Regions from separate parts of the Homo sapiens genome. Here region 1 is linked to region 2. The links are contacts of gene promoters, found by promoter capture Hi-C in blood cells and fetal thymus (Javierre and others, 2016). All regions are on one chromosome and are shown on one strand. Each heading gives the region's core, a stretch centred on a gene start or on the middle of the fragment in contact. The rest is flanking DNA. Distances are from core to core; before and after follow the strand shown. Region 1 overlaps LINC02122 (long intergenic non-protein coding RNA 2122). Region 2 holds the start of ENC1 (ectodermal-neural cortex 1).

The links. The method cuts DNA at HindIII sites, captures the fragments that hold promoters and counts their contacts. A CHiCAGO score of 5 or more calls a contact.
Region 1: a contact is called between a fragment that was not itself captured here and the fragment with the promoter of ENC1 in region 2, in 3 of 17 cell types (M0 macrophages, monocytes and M2 macrophages). The highest score is 7.3, in M0 macrophages.

Annotation. Positions count from the first base shown.
Region 1 is chr5:74,049,996-74,056,669 of GRCh38, forward strand. The region is part of intron 2 of LINC02122 (long intergenic non-protein coding RNA 2122); the gene reads right to left. LOC105379035 (a long non-coding RNA gene) reads left to right here. Exons shown (of 3, transcript XR_948476.3): 3 at 3,699-4,450. Among named protein-coding and RNA genes, the nearest start is that of LINC02122, 50 kb to the right of the region's middle. The HindIII fragment of the contact is 902 bases long and covers 2,037-2,938 here.
Region 2 is chr5:74,635,471-74,642,535 of GRCh38, forward strand. ENC1 (ectodermal-neural cortex 1) reads right to left here and starts at 5,258. Exons shown (of 3, transcript NM_003633.4): 1 at 4,837-5,258; 2 at 1-1,028. The coding sequence starts at 1,015. It also overlaps a transcript of HEXB not described here. RefSeq lists enhancers at 4,707-5,066, 5,528-6,243, 6,244-6,957 and a silencer at 5,107-5,366. The HindIII fragment of the contact is 20,564 bases long and covers 1-7,065 here.

The DNA of each region.
Region 1 (6,674 bases), core at 1,238-3,737, 590 kb before region 2:
GAGCAATACAGGGCAATGACTAAGATATAGGCTTTGTCTTCAAGAAGCTCTCAGTCAAGCTGCAGAGGCTCTATTATAAAAGATAAAGATCATTTGGAAACACATTAGAAGAAGCTGTCAAAGTAGGTGGTAAATATCTGGGGAGGTAGGAGGAAAGAAAGGATCAAGCAAGGAAAAGAACCAATGGCCTACAGAGAGATGGTATCTCGTATGCATCTCCAATGCCTAAAACAGCTCATGATCCTCTAAGAGTTTAGTGGCATGTAGATTCTCAATTGCATAATTTTTTTTTTTACTGTGAGCCAAGTGGAACAACTAGGTCTAGTTTTATTAACTTACTATGTCATGGAGAATGAAGGAAAATCACTTTGTACCATGTCCCCACTGCCTATAAGTCAGGTCTAAAATAGGTTTTTGAAGAAGGTAGGTAGTTCCAGGCAGTCACTAAACATATTTTGCTGGATCCTCTAAGGAAATTTTGTTAACTGACAAAAATATAATTTGGGTCACATAGGCAATTCCAAATTTTCTACTAGCCACATCAAAAAAAGGAAAAACAAGCAGGTGAAATAAAATCTAATAATACATTTTATTTAACTCAATACATTTTAAGAATATTATAATTTTAACATGTAATCAATACAAAAACTATCAATGAGATTTTGCTTTTTTTGTACTAAGTCTTTGAAATCCAGTGAGCAAACTACACTTACAGCATCTCTCAATTTATACTAGCCACATTTTAAGGGTTCAATAACCGTATGTAACTAGTGGCTACCATATTGGACAAGTGCAAATCTAAAAGTCTTAGTGAAATTAGAGATTAAAAGAAAAACATACTTGAAAATATTTCAGAAAATAAATTCAGATACATAGGTTGGAGGATGCTGTACAGCACACGGTTTTCTGATGGCAGAGTGCACTGAGTTTGTTTCAGTAACCGCTGCTCCGACAACTTTTAAAGAATAAGGGCAAACACAAATCCAGTCTGAGGACTTGCTTGACATGGTGATTAATTAAGACATATGGGTGAGCATAAAGCAAGATTTCCTCCTACAATCCGTCTTCTACTGACCTTCATTAAGGACAAAGAACATTTTAATGGATGAAGCCTTCACCTTTAATAAGCCTTTACTCTGTTATTTCCTATGGAACCATGCATTAGATTAACAAAACAATGGTAGCTGGCTAATGACAGAGCTGTGGTCAGAACCCCAGGGATAGCCTATGTCACTATTAGCGCCTCAAGGCAAAATGTCACTTGGGCCACCTCTTCCAATCCAATCAAGAAGACTTTGACCTATAATTGCATTCAGAGAGTTCAAGAGCTCAAGAGGTTACAGATGGGGTGAGCGGGCCCATGCTTTGCATCATCAGATCAGCTTGAGGAAAGAATGTATGAGAGCATAAACAGGGACCAATATGGGCAAGGGGAAGGCATATTTGTTTCCTGTTTGCAAATGATATTTGGAAACAAAACAAATATTCCTGTTTATCATTGACTACTTAGGAGAGGTATATTTGTTTATTGTTTATATACATTTTTATTTTGGAATAATTTTAGATTTACAAAAAAGTTCCAAAGATAATGCAGAGAAACACTGTACCTTTCATCCAATTTCCCTTTACATAGGAAGTGTCATACATATGTCAAAACCAAGAAATCAACATTGGTAACATTACTACTAACTAAATTCCAGCTTTTATATTGCATTTGTTTTTTTCTATCTGCAGCTTTAAATCTCAGTAGGAAGAATTGTATAAAACAATAAGATATCAAAGCAATTTTAAACAGATAACCTCTATCTTGTAGAGAGTAGGGATAGAGATGAAAGATAGCATGAGGCAAAGTGGTGATATTAATCCAGCAACTTACTTTTCCTACCATGGATTTTTAGATGAACTTTGATCATTCTGATGCAGATCAAAGGGTACCTCCTCTGCGAAGACTTCCCTGGTCTGACACCAAAAATGCTGATATTGGAGTTGTCAGCCGAAAGAAAGGGACCAGAATATTCTCAAGGAGCAATTTTTAAAGCTTCCCCTCCCCTACTCCTTGCTACCTTCCAACTCATGTTACTGAATGTGCTTCCAGAAAGCATCTCTGAAGGTTTTATGCATGAAGAGTTTGTGCTGGGTCTTTTGCCTTTTGAATGATAGGAATTGCTGAAGCTATATATCCCTGAAAATGTCCAGTTTAGGAATCATCAGGGATAACACATCTTAGCACATTTAGGTAAAGCTATTCATATTCAAAAATGAGTTTGGGGGGAATTGGGCTTACTCAGTTTACCTCTGACCAAATTTAACAAATAGGAGGAGCTGCCACAAATTTGGCACTGAGCTGGCTATGGCTTCACTGAGGATCACTCCTTTCTGAACACTGACACTCTAAATGATACTGTAGATGTTTCTCTCTACTAAACTCTAAGTTCCTGATGATAGGGACCGTGAGAAATGTGTCCTAGTCTTTCTTAACCTTGGACCCTCATTGCCTGAAACAATCCCTAGAATTTAACAGATGCTCAATAAATGTTCTTGGGCCAAAAATGGACAAATATCTATTGCATGGATAGATGGTTGAATGAATGCATAACTGATGAGTAATTCCTCATCTCTGCCTTTAGGGGCTTACTCTCTGGAAAGAGATAGCGAGAAACACCCAGGTGATTATATTGCACGGTGGAATGAGGTAGTAAGTGCTGAGAGAGGTGAACATGCTAAAGAAAATGCTGTTTAGGTTCCAAGAAGGTGAGAACTACAGCCCCTTGGAAAATAAGCAGAGGTAAGCTGTACTTGAGATTGTCCAGGAAGGATGCATAGGATGTTGTAATCAGGGGTAGGATGGGAAATAAATAAGAACATTCCTGTCTGAGGGAACAGAGCACACTAACCCAGCAAGGTGGGAAATAAGGAACGCTTAGCATTTAGTTTAGAAAGCTTATGTGGCATGTGGAAGTAAGGGAAAATAAATGAAATTCATACGCTGAATTTCCACATTATGCATATCCTTGAATGCCTCTGTTTGCCAATTTGGAAGCGATGACAGACACAGATAAATCATGAAGAGAAGCTGTCTTGGGATGGAGGTAAGTGTGTTCAAGTACATCTTCCAAGAACATATTAGGTCTGAGAAAAATATTAGAACTGCAGGAAAGAAAAAAGCATTGTGATAATATGATGATACCGTTTAGTCATTAAGTTCTATGGTGACAAACCAGAGCTTTCCTATGTTTGTAATGTAGGAGGCTATGCTGTGATTAAATCATTATCTGTCCAGCCAATAAAATACAAAGAAAGCCAGTAAAGCAATTTTGTTAAAGAAGCAATTGAAGGGCCGGGCACGGTGGCTCATACCTGTAATCCCAGCATTTTGGGACGCTGAGGTGGGCGGACTGCCTGAGCTCAGGAGTTCAAGACCAGCCTGGACAACACGGTGAAACCCTGTCTCTCCTAAAATACAAAAAAAATTTGCCAGACATGACGGCATGCGCCTGTAATCCCAGCTACTTGAAGGCTGAGGCAGGAGAATCATTTAACCCTGGGAAGTGGAGGTTGCAGTGAGCCAGAATCTCCCCACTGCACTTCAGACTGGGCGACAGAGCAAGACTCGATCTCTAAAAAAAACAAACAACAACAAGCAATTGAAATAGCAGTTTTTGAACCTAATACTTTTTCTCTCCATGTTCCTTTAACAGTTGCATGATCAAGCTGACTTGAGGGTTCTGAACAGAAGCTGACCAGTCTACTGCACATTGTAAAGAAGTTAAAAAGCTGGATTGAATTGCAAAATGTACTACTCAAGGAGTCCAAAGAATAAAATATGAGCAGCTTGTGGGGGTAAAGCATTCGTAGGTATAGTATAGAAAAGGTCCATGAGCATCATGTCAGTGTCTTTTAACTTTCCATTGCAGTGGAATAATCCTTTATGCGTTTATGAAAATCTTTGGAAAAGAAGCCACGTCACTGGGTGGTTCCTACTTATTTTCCTCTCCAGGGGCCTTTGCTGCTCTTGCTGGGTGCCTCAGTTGCTAGCTTTGTGAGTAGTAATGCCCCACTGTTCCCAGCTCCTTGCTTGCTGGGTGTGAGGACAGAGGCTATCATAGCAATAATTGCTGGATGTTCTGTGTTTGCACATCTGTGGTGGCCTTCTGAATTGAGTTTCGTGCCAGAGCCAGGCAGCGCCTCCCTACCCCACCCTCCCACTGCCCCTTTATTTTCTGTGTCACACCATTAAAAGAAATGAGATTATGGCACAAATCATCATTCATATGACTCTAGCATAGAAGGTTAGCGAGATATTGCAGAGATAATTCCATAGCCACCATGGCCCCTGACAATAATTACAATGTGGCCACAGGGGATTACCTTCTAATAGGCTTTTGTTCACTCAATTCAGAGTCTGTTGTGTGCTAGAGTTTGGATAATTAAAGTTGTGTCTCAGAAGCCACATGTGGTAGCTCATAATTATGTAGTCGAGTCTAACAGAAAACTGAGGTGACTGACACCCGGCCAGAGTGAAGAACAGGGGTCCTTGGTGACAACGAAGAAAGAAACCAGTCCCCTCATTTGGGGACAGGGGATTGGTGTTCACTCCATAGCATCAACTGCTTTATTTATTTTAAACAAAAATGACTAATTATAGCCCTTTCTGGTCCAATCCCTCACTCTCCACGGGGACTTTTCCTAACCCTTTCCTATTGCTCCAACAAAAGAATGGTAGCTGGTCTGAGCAATGAAGAAAATATACATGGCTTATTTAAACAGCATAATGGTTTAATTATTTAATCATTTGCATGTTGAGTGATTTGCATAAAAGCAGGAAAAGGCCCATGTTGGAATTTGGCCTGTATCTCCCCCTGTTCCTCACTGGAGAAAAGATTCTGAAACTTGGCCTCGTTGAAGCCCTTGAATTTTAGAAAAAAAATGTGAACTTTGAAAAACTTAGATTTGTTATTTCAAGGATGCAATATTTGAAAAGAAAACAAATCCAAAGACTATATCCCATTGGGCCATATTTCTCAAGTCAGTCGATGGCTGTCAAAGAAGCAAAGTAGTTAATTTTCCCTGTAAAGTATGCCCTTGAAAAGCCATTCTCCTAAGTATAGGCAGAATGCTTTGCTAAGTGGGTGCCTTTTCAGCATTCTAAGACTGGGTCCCACATTTTCTAACGATTCATTGTGAAAGAGATGGCTATTTTACCATTCTGCTTAAAATCTGAAACTTTAGTTCAGCACATCTCTTATCTTAAATCCTTGGAATGTTTAGAAGATTCTTGCAACGCACTTCTAAAAGGCTCTGAATTTCTGAGCCTTAAAAGTAAAATTCTGCTTTGTTCCAACATAAGACATTTTTCCTCCAAGTTTTGCCAGGTAGAGAACAAACCCCTTCATTTTTTTCAACACTGTTGTCTCTTTTAAAGCACAGCAAATTTATTCTTCACCCAATGTGGAAACAACAATTGATATTCAAAACGCTACCCTTTCCTAAGGCTTTGCCTTCATGAAAATGAAACATATTTCGTACTGAGCACCATATGGTGTTTGTGAAGAGTGGACACGCAGATGCCTCCTAATTAAAGCATTAAAGTTTGTCATGAGAAATGGCAGCACAGATGATTTTGGCTGGGCGTGTGGGAGGGGGTAGGCAGGAAGGGGTCCCAGAGAGTGGATGAAGTGGTAGGCTGACTCCCAGTTTTTTCAAACACACGCTCTGATTGGTCCTCAGGGAGCAGATAATGGCAAGAGGCAGTTAATTTGAAGATAATTGAGAGATCTCTTTCCTGTCTTCACACAATAAAAAAAGGTGTCGGGCCTCAGCTGGCAGTTGCACTCTGGCAGGAAGAAAAGGGCTCGAATTGGTCTGTGAAAGCTGCCACCTCCTTTTCACTTCTCACACAAAGCTGGGAAACCCCTTTCCTATCCTACACCCCTCCTTCCCCCATGCCCCCAGCCGTGCACCCATGTTTATTGTTTCAACACATCAGACCATAAATAAGTTTCCAGAGGGAGAGAATATTGGAGGACAAGGGAAGTTCTATTCTTCTGGAAAACATGAGCTGTGCCTCTATAAACACTACCTCCCAGACAGGCTGAAGAGAAGCATCCCCTCAGATGGGGGTTTACTGTGAGATGATGAACTGGTTTTTTGAGCCACTTTTTCCCCTTTCTCAGCATCTCTGGTACTATGTGCCAAGCTGTTCTCGAACCCATGCAGTCTAGAAACCCGGAGGGACTTTCTCAGGTTAAGGGGAACATTCATCTGCCCACCTCTGTGTAGATGGTAGATAGAAGCTCTTGAGGTGTCATGTGGTAGGAACGGTCTTAAGCTGGGTTCACACTTGCCTCAGCAAGTCACACTGCAAAAGGGAAGAGGTAATCACATGTGAGGGGCTTTTGGTTTGTTTGTTTTTTAAGGAAACTCTCCCTCTGGCCTGCTAAACTTCCCAGCTCCTTTTTTATATTATAGCGCAGCTTGCTTATAAATTCTAGGAAAATCTTAAGTCGGCACTTAAAATAATCTTTTTTAAAAAACACACCCACGTGAAGAATTACTGGAAATTAGGATTACATAAGTGTGAAGAATGTTGCTTTTTCCCTCAGAACTGGGAAACTTAATGTTGACAGGCTAAGGGAAACTTTAAAAAGTGAAAAGAGCTACAGTCATCAGTTTAT
Region 2 (7,065 bases), core at 4,008-6,507:
CAATCGCACATGCACTAAACTCTTTTCTTGGGCTGGGAATGTCAGCCTTGGGAATGATTTCTTTGGCCTTCTGGTCTACCAGATACAACTTGTCACACATGAAAGTCTGTCCTCCCAGAAGGAAGAGGGCATGGCCAGTTTTCCGAGGTCGGGCACAGAGGCTGGTTACCACACCGTCATTCTGCAGGATTTTCAGTTTGCACCTGATGGCCTCTTCCACAATTTCCTTACTCTTTCTCTGCTTGGTGATGAGTTCCTCCATGGCCACATTCTCCATGAGATAGATGGCTGGCAGAAGTGCCAGCCTTACTGTCTGCAACAGTTCTGGGAGGTAGCAATAGCGCTTCTTCAGGTCATAGCTGATCCAGTTAATTGCAGACTCGTACACAAGCCTTTCATCCTCTGTCTCCAGCTCTTCACTGGACAAGAGTTGCACTACCATGTCCTGGGGCAGCTGGAGGAAATCTTCATTCTTCCTGATGGTTTGGAAGTTGCTGAGACACATTCTCCAAGATAGTTCGTACAGCTTGGTGCACTGGTGTGCATCAGACAGCAGCAGCATGCCCAGGCAGTTGGTGGGATGCAGGTTCTTTTCCAGGAACTCTGCACATGCATCCCGGATGTCTTGAAACTCCAGCATGTCACCAGCTTCCAGGAGCGATTCTGCATTTTCTTCATTGATGATGACCCGGGAGGAGTACGCATAGTCAAGCAGCAGCTCCAAGACTTCTGGGTGGATGGAATTGTCAAAGTTGACCTCACTGTCCTGGCTCTCTTTCAGGCCACCACTGAACATGGCCTCAAAGTAGCGACTGCATGCAGCCAGCACTGCCCGGTGGCAAGGGAAGGTCCTATTTCCGGCATGGAGAAGGACGTCAGTGAAGAGACGCTGCTGGCGTAAAAGATTCAGGTGAGTGAGGACGCTGTCAGCGTAGGAGGACTTGTGAAACAGATAGATGTTAATGGAGCCGCTGCTGGCCCTGGACTTGCGGTTCTCATGCACACTGACTGACATTTTGTTTCCACTCCTAAAAATAATAATAATAATAAATTGAAAATGATGCTCCTGATGTTCAGAACAGCAGAACGAAAGCAACAATGGTTTTGCACAAAAAACAGAACACTTTGTTGTTGACCATGCCACCTACTATTCTAGAATAGTGTATGGCCATTCCAGGACAAAGCCAGAGACAACTACCCGGAAGGAAGGATATTCACTGCTAATACTGTTGAGCTATTTGAACTCTGCACTGTTTAAAAAAAAAAAAAAAATCACTGCATAAAAAGCAGGTTCATCTTGGAAAACCTGATTGCCAACTTTCAGGCCATCGAAGTCTTTTAGAATATAAGTCAGCAAAAGCCAAGAGGAGTGAGTCTCATTCCCACAGCTCCCTGTCCTAGTCCAGCTCATTCACTGCGGGCCACTTAAAATGCCAGGTCTCCTGCTCTTATAATGCCAGGATGGGCACTGGCTTTCATGCCCCATGCAACATAAAGCCATGCGTAAAACAAACACCTAATAATTAATTCCATTAAGAATTCCTTTGGTAAGATCCAATCTCCCAGCACATACAGTAAATGGGAAATGTAAGGCCAACTTCTGCAATGATCAGACCTTTATTTAAATGTTACAGATAATGTATTTCATTTTATATATACTTTTGAGACCAAGTCTCGCTCTGTCACCCTGGCTTGAGTGCAGTGGTGCAATCACAGTTCACTGCAGCCTCGAACTCCTGGACTTAAGTGATCCTCCTGCCTTGGCCTTCCGAGTAGCTGGCACTAAAGGTGTGCACCACCAAACCCAGATAATTTTTTGTATTTTTTGTAGAGACCGGGTCTCAAACTCCTGGCCTCACCTGATCCTCCCACCTCGGCATCCCAACTTAAAGATTAATTTCTAACCAGACAGCTCTACCACTGAAGAGTCCTAAAAGCACCCCAATTTCAACATTAACCATATATTGATCAGCAAGCCTTTAGTCAAAGCACAGAATAAATTCTGGCCATAATCACCAACTACCTGTCTTGCTCGGGACAGCTTCCAATGTGAGGATTTGGCACATAAAAAGAAGAATATTTTGAGTAGCATACTTATGACTGCTGTTTTCTGTTCTTCCCGCTTTATATCAATTCTTGGAAAACCAGCTGCAAGAACAAAAGATCCATCCGTCTTTTGATTAAATAGTGCATCACTAGGACTGTTCCTGTATACCTGCAAATGCTGACACCTGCATAGAAGGAGTTCAAAATGCAAACACTGCTTTATTTAAATCAAAAAATACGTGTGTGTGTGTGTGTGTGTGTGTGTGTGTGTGTGTGTATTTTGCCAGCTGTTGTTAATTTAGGGCCACCCCAGAATTTATTTGCTGACTACAGTGCTTTCCTTGGTATCTACATTGAAATTATAGTAGAATCTAATGCTATCTTTTGGTTTTCTTCAGTAAGAAAACAGTAGGGTAGAGACATAGGAAATGCTTGTCACCCATCTTCAAAAACTGAATCACATGCCTTCATCCTTTTCTTTTACACCATCCCTCTGTTACTTCAAAGGAATGAAGTCCTCAAGAACCTGCCTGTCCAAGGATTCCTAAGGAAGCTGTTTATCCCGCTGTTTATCCCCAGAGGGTAAACTGTGTGGCTGGTTGCAGTATCTGTTCCAGACACATAACAGCCAGTCCCAAAAGCGCAGCTGAAACTCTGTTTCCTTTAACCATTCAGACATTTTTAAATGCATATTCTAAGAATTATTAATAAATGCAAATGAATGATTTGCCACAGATTCATGGGCTAAAATACTAACCTGCACCTCCCCAACCAGATGTGAGCCCCACTATAAGACTGCACAGAAAACCACAAAGGCAGGGGCATGACACATATACCTCATACCATTAGGTGATGCAACTAGTTTTCTTTCCTTTTTGGAATATAATTTTTTATGATGAGTAAACATGGCTGAGTGGAAGAAAGGAAGCAACAAAGTCCTAGAGCTCCAGTGTTAGGAAGACTTTACAAAGCACCCAGTAATTTCCACAGTGACTTGAGATATAAAAAATGGTGAGGAGCCAGCTTCACTCCCACCTCAAGCTAAGCATCTACTGTCTACTCCATTCTAACCAATGCCCAGTGTTTTGGAGAATGACCATATGAACCTATGGGAATGCATCAGGTTTCCAAAGGGTTAAAACATTCATTAGCATTCTCAATGCTCCACCACTGTAGTTGCTATTTTAATTAGTACATTCAATCTGGAGTATCTGGAGGAAGACTTTAAACCTAAACCTCAATAGACTGTCTACTTACTCTTGTGAATCTGCCGCCTCTCTCAGAGCAAATGCTGCCCTGAGTGAAGGAAGAATGAGGCTCCCTGAAACTAGGTGCACAGGCACCAAAATGCTTACACATTGAGCTGGAATCATGCTAGGCCCAGAACACATTTCCTTGAACATTAAATTCAGGATGGTGCAAAACAACATTCACAACCAGACTTACACCTAAGAAAACAATTTGCTTAGAAGACCTTAGGATATAGGATCTACATCTCTCCGCATCCTGTGTTTATGCTCCTGTATGTTCCAGGTTGGCCCAACAAGCCAGAAGGAAGAGCCTAGCCTGTCATCTTGGATACCACCCAGATGGAAAAGCACGTCACAGTCAAAATCACAATCAACATTCTTGCAACAATGTTTGATTAAAATAAAAAGTAAACTTGGAAACCCAAGAGGAAATACTTGCTTTCTGGTTTAAAACTGTGCAAACCTCAAAATATCAGCAGAAACCATGTATACAAGTCACTGAACACACCTTCAACATAAAATGAATCATCTTTCGAGCATTTTTAAGCCCCCAGAGAAATCACATTTGCATACCAAGTAAGTGGCCAAGAAAATGCACACATGTACTTAACCTACGTCTGCAAAGAAGACAGAGAAAGGGCTGCTATTACTGTGAACATCAAAAGGGCTTCAGTTACAGTAACTTCAGTTCACTTCATGCTCCTAACTCAGGCTCTCTGCCTCCAATGCTTAGCGTCCCGCACCCTTCTCCAGGTTTTGAACCTGATCTCAATCCAATCAAAAGAGAAACTAAGCAGATTTTTTTCTGGGCATTTACATTACCGGTAACAATAGAACATTATAAAGATCTTGTTAACAAAAGTAGCTTCTTGCCAGAGTCTTTTTATTAACACTTGCAACGCTATTTAACAAGCTGGCCATGCCTGTGTGACACCAAACCGCATGTGGATAAATTCAGTGTTTCATCTCCAGGCCCACCAATTCCTATCCTTTGTAACTAATAATGTTAACACGACAGATCAAGAAACTAGTTTTTCAGAAAGCAGTTTTCATTCATTCTCTATAGACATTTCCGCCGCAGTGAACATGCCCGCACTCAGGGTGTCTGTGCATGGCCCCAACTTTCCTCCAAGCCGGGGAGGATGCAACGTGGGCCAACCATCCCGCGCGCTCGGCCCTGGAGGCTGCGGGGAGCGACGCAGCGCGACATTCACCCCCAGGAAAGCGCTGCTTTCCGCAGAGGAGAGAGGCTGACTGTATCCTTAGCTCGGCTCCTCGCTTCCCCAGCGGCTCGCCCCAGACATTGCACCGCGGAGGGGAGGCCGGTCGACCTCTCCGGCGATGCCCGGCTTCTGCCTGCTGTGGGAGGGCAGCGGCGGGCACCGTGATCTCCGCACCGAGAAGAGCTCCCCTTGCCCTCTAGTCGAAGCTCCCGAGTGCTCGGAGCACGCTCACCCCTCGCGAACACACCCCTGCAGCCGAAGCAGCCCCTGAAGCCCGCAGCGCCTGCAACAGGTCCGGGGCAGTGGGGGAAACTTACAGCAGTGGCGACTGGCCGCAACGCACAACTGAGTTCTAGCGACGGTCACGGGCAAGGAGGCGACGAACCGGTCGTCTCAGCCCAGGGAAGCGGTGGCGAATGCCCCGGAGAAAGGAGGGCCAGCCGGGGAGAGGACTGCGCCCCGAACGATGGCTCGCGGACCGGCTACCGATGGCGTTCGCCTCCGTCTGTCGTCCCCACGCCGCGGACCCGGTGTCCAGGACCCGCAGAGCGTCTCCGGAGCGCGTCACGGTAGGGCAGAGCAAGCCTGCCACTGCAGGCGCCGCGGAAGGAGGCGGGCTGTGCGCTCGGGGGAGGGAGCTAGAAAGCGCCTTGTGTGCCGGCGGCCGCCAGGCGTCTGGACCGGGTCTCCGCAGCGCCACCGCCGCACCGCCTCCTCTCCGGCTGCCAGAGCAGTCTGCGCCCCGCCGCCGTGCGCCCCGCTATAAGTGGCGCGGCGGGGAGGGGAGGGGGCGCGTATGCAAAGAGACCGACACCGGGGGAGGGAGGAAGCGCATTAGCGCGGCCTGTGGTGTAGGAGGAGGAAGAGGAGGAGAAGGAGTGGGAGGAGGAGAGGAGCTAGAGAAGAGCGTGTCGGGGGAGTTAATCGGGAGAGGAAGCGGGAGAGGGGGGCTGCGGGGAGTGCAGAGAGACAAAGCGGACGCACTGTCTCAGCCGCTGGCAGCTGCAACCCCGGGAACCGAGAATAAAATAAGTTTTCCCGGGTTCGAGTGTCTGCGCCTCTTTGGGCCAGCCTGGTTAATGGACAGCCCCGGATCTGAGGGACCCACCTTAGGGGAGCGCAGCCCGGGGCTGTGCGCTTGGTGATGCCAGAGCCCGCGAGATGCTCTAAAAAGGGCTGCAAGGGGCGAGCTGGGTATCCGCAGGACAGGCCCTGGGCACGCATAGACAGCGCCTTGGGTAGGACACCCAGAGTGGGGAGAGATAGTGGCAATGGACGGGCAAAAGTCTGGACAGTTTAGGGACACTCGGGTTGAGCAAGCCAGGACGTTTAAGTTTCTTGCTGGCAGAGAGCCAAAGAGACTCCAGCCCCAGGCATTTCCTATGTGTCCTCCCTCCCCACTCCCCAGTGGGTGCGGCACCCCCGGCTGGACTCTGCCCTAAGCCAGGCGACTGCAGGGGCAGCCGGGGCGCAGTCCTGCGGGGCGCGCACCACGTGCTTTTCAGCCAATCGCCGCGGCCGCTTGATTCAAAGTGAACTCCTCAAAGCAGCAGCCACGCCGCCTCCTCTCCTAGCGATTAAGCCTCCATCACCTTCTCCTGTTTTTTATCGCTCGGTGGTGTTAGTTTGGAGTTCAGTAAAGAAATGGCCCAGCACACACACACGTTTAATAGTCCCGCGTGTCAGGAGAAGGGAAGGCGATTCGAAAAATAATCTCGCGTGGTGATCACTTTTACGAATCCCATTTATCTTTGCAACTAGAGGCTTGTCTTTCCACTGGGAGTTAAAATATCTGTCTTTTATTCGGTATTTGGAGCTAAGTCTATAAATGAACGGGATAGATGACCGGTCCAGCCCCCTTGTTTTACAGGTGGGGAACCGAGGCCCAGGGAGATGTGAATTGCCTGGCTCGTAGTCACTTAGCAACAATGTCCCAGCTCTGCAGCTCGAGAGTGAGGGCCCCACGACAGAGTTTATTCCGTCCCCGGGTCCCCGCGTCCCCAAGCGCCCGCGCTTCGCCTCCCAGCTTGCTTTAAAACACTAGGCGCAGGAGCGATTTAAACTGGCTAAGGAGGCCCCACATGGCGCTTCCAGAGTCCAGACTGCTGAAACCAAGACTGTCAGTTCTTCATTCTAATTTCATTTTCCTTTATCCTTGTTCCTTCCTGGTATTTGCGCCGAGAAATTTCGCTCCTTGCAAACAAAGAAAGACAGTGCCCTCTGAAGTCCTTTGTTAGCATTAACTCGGCAGCCTCACCACGAACCTTTCAATATATATATTTTTTAATGCAGAGTCTCGGCTTGAGGCTGATTCACAGAGACAGCCCGGATCAATTCATGTCAAGAACCACGTATGGAGAGCCAGGGGGGCTGCGAGGTTAGGAGAGGGCTGGCAAGCAGCACCCAGGTTCTGAAGCAAAGACCAGACAGATGGAAACTCTGTAGACTCCAGAGATAGGTGCTGAAAAGATGGGAGGCGGAAATGTGTAACTATTGCACATATGTCTTTTTAAAACATGTTTCTGTAGCCTGTGGCAAGGTGTGGG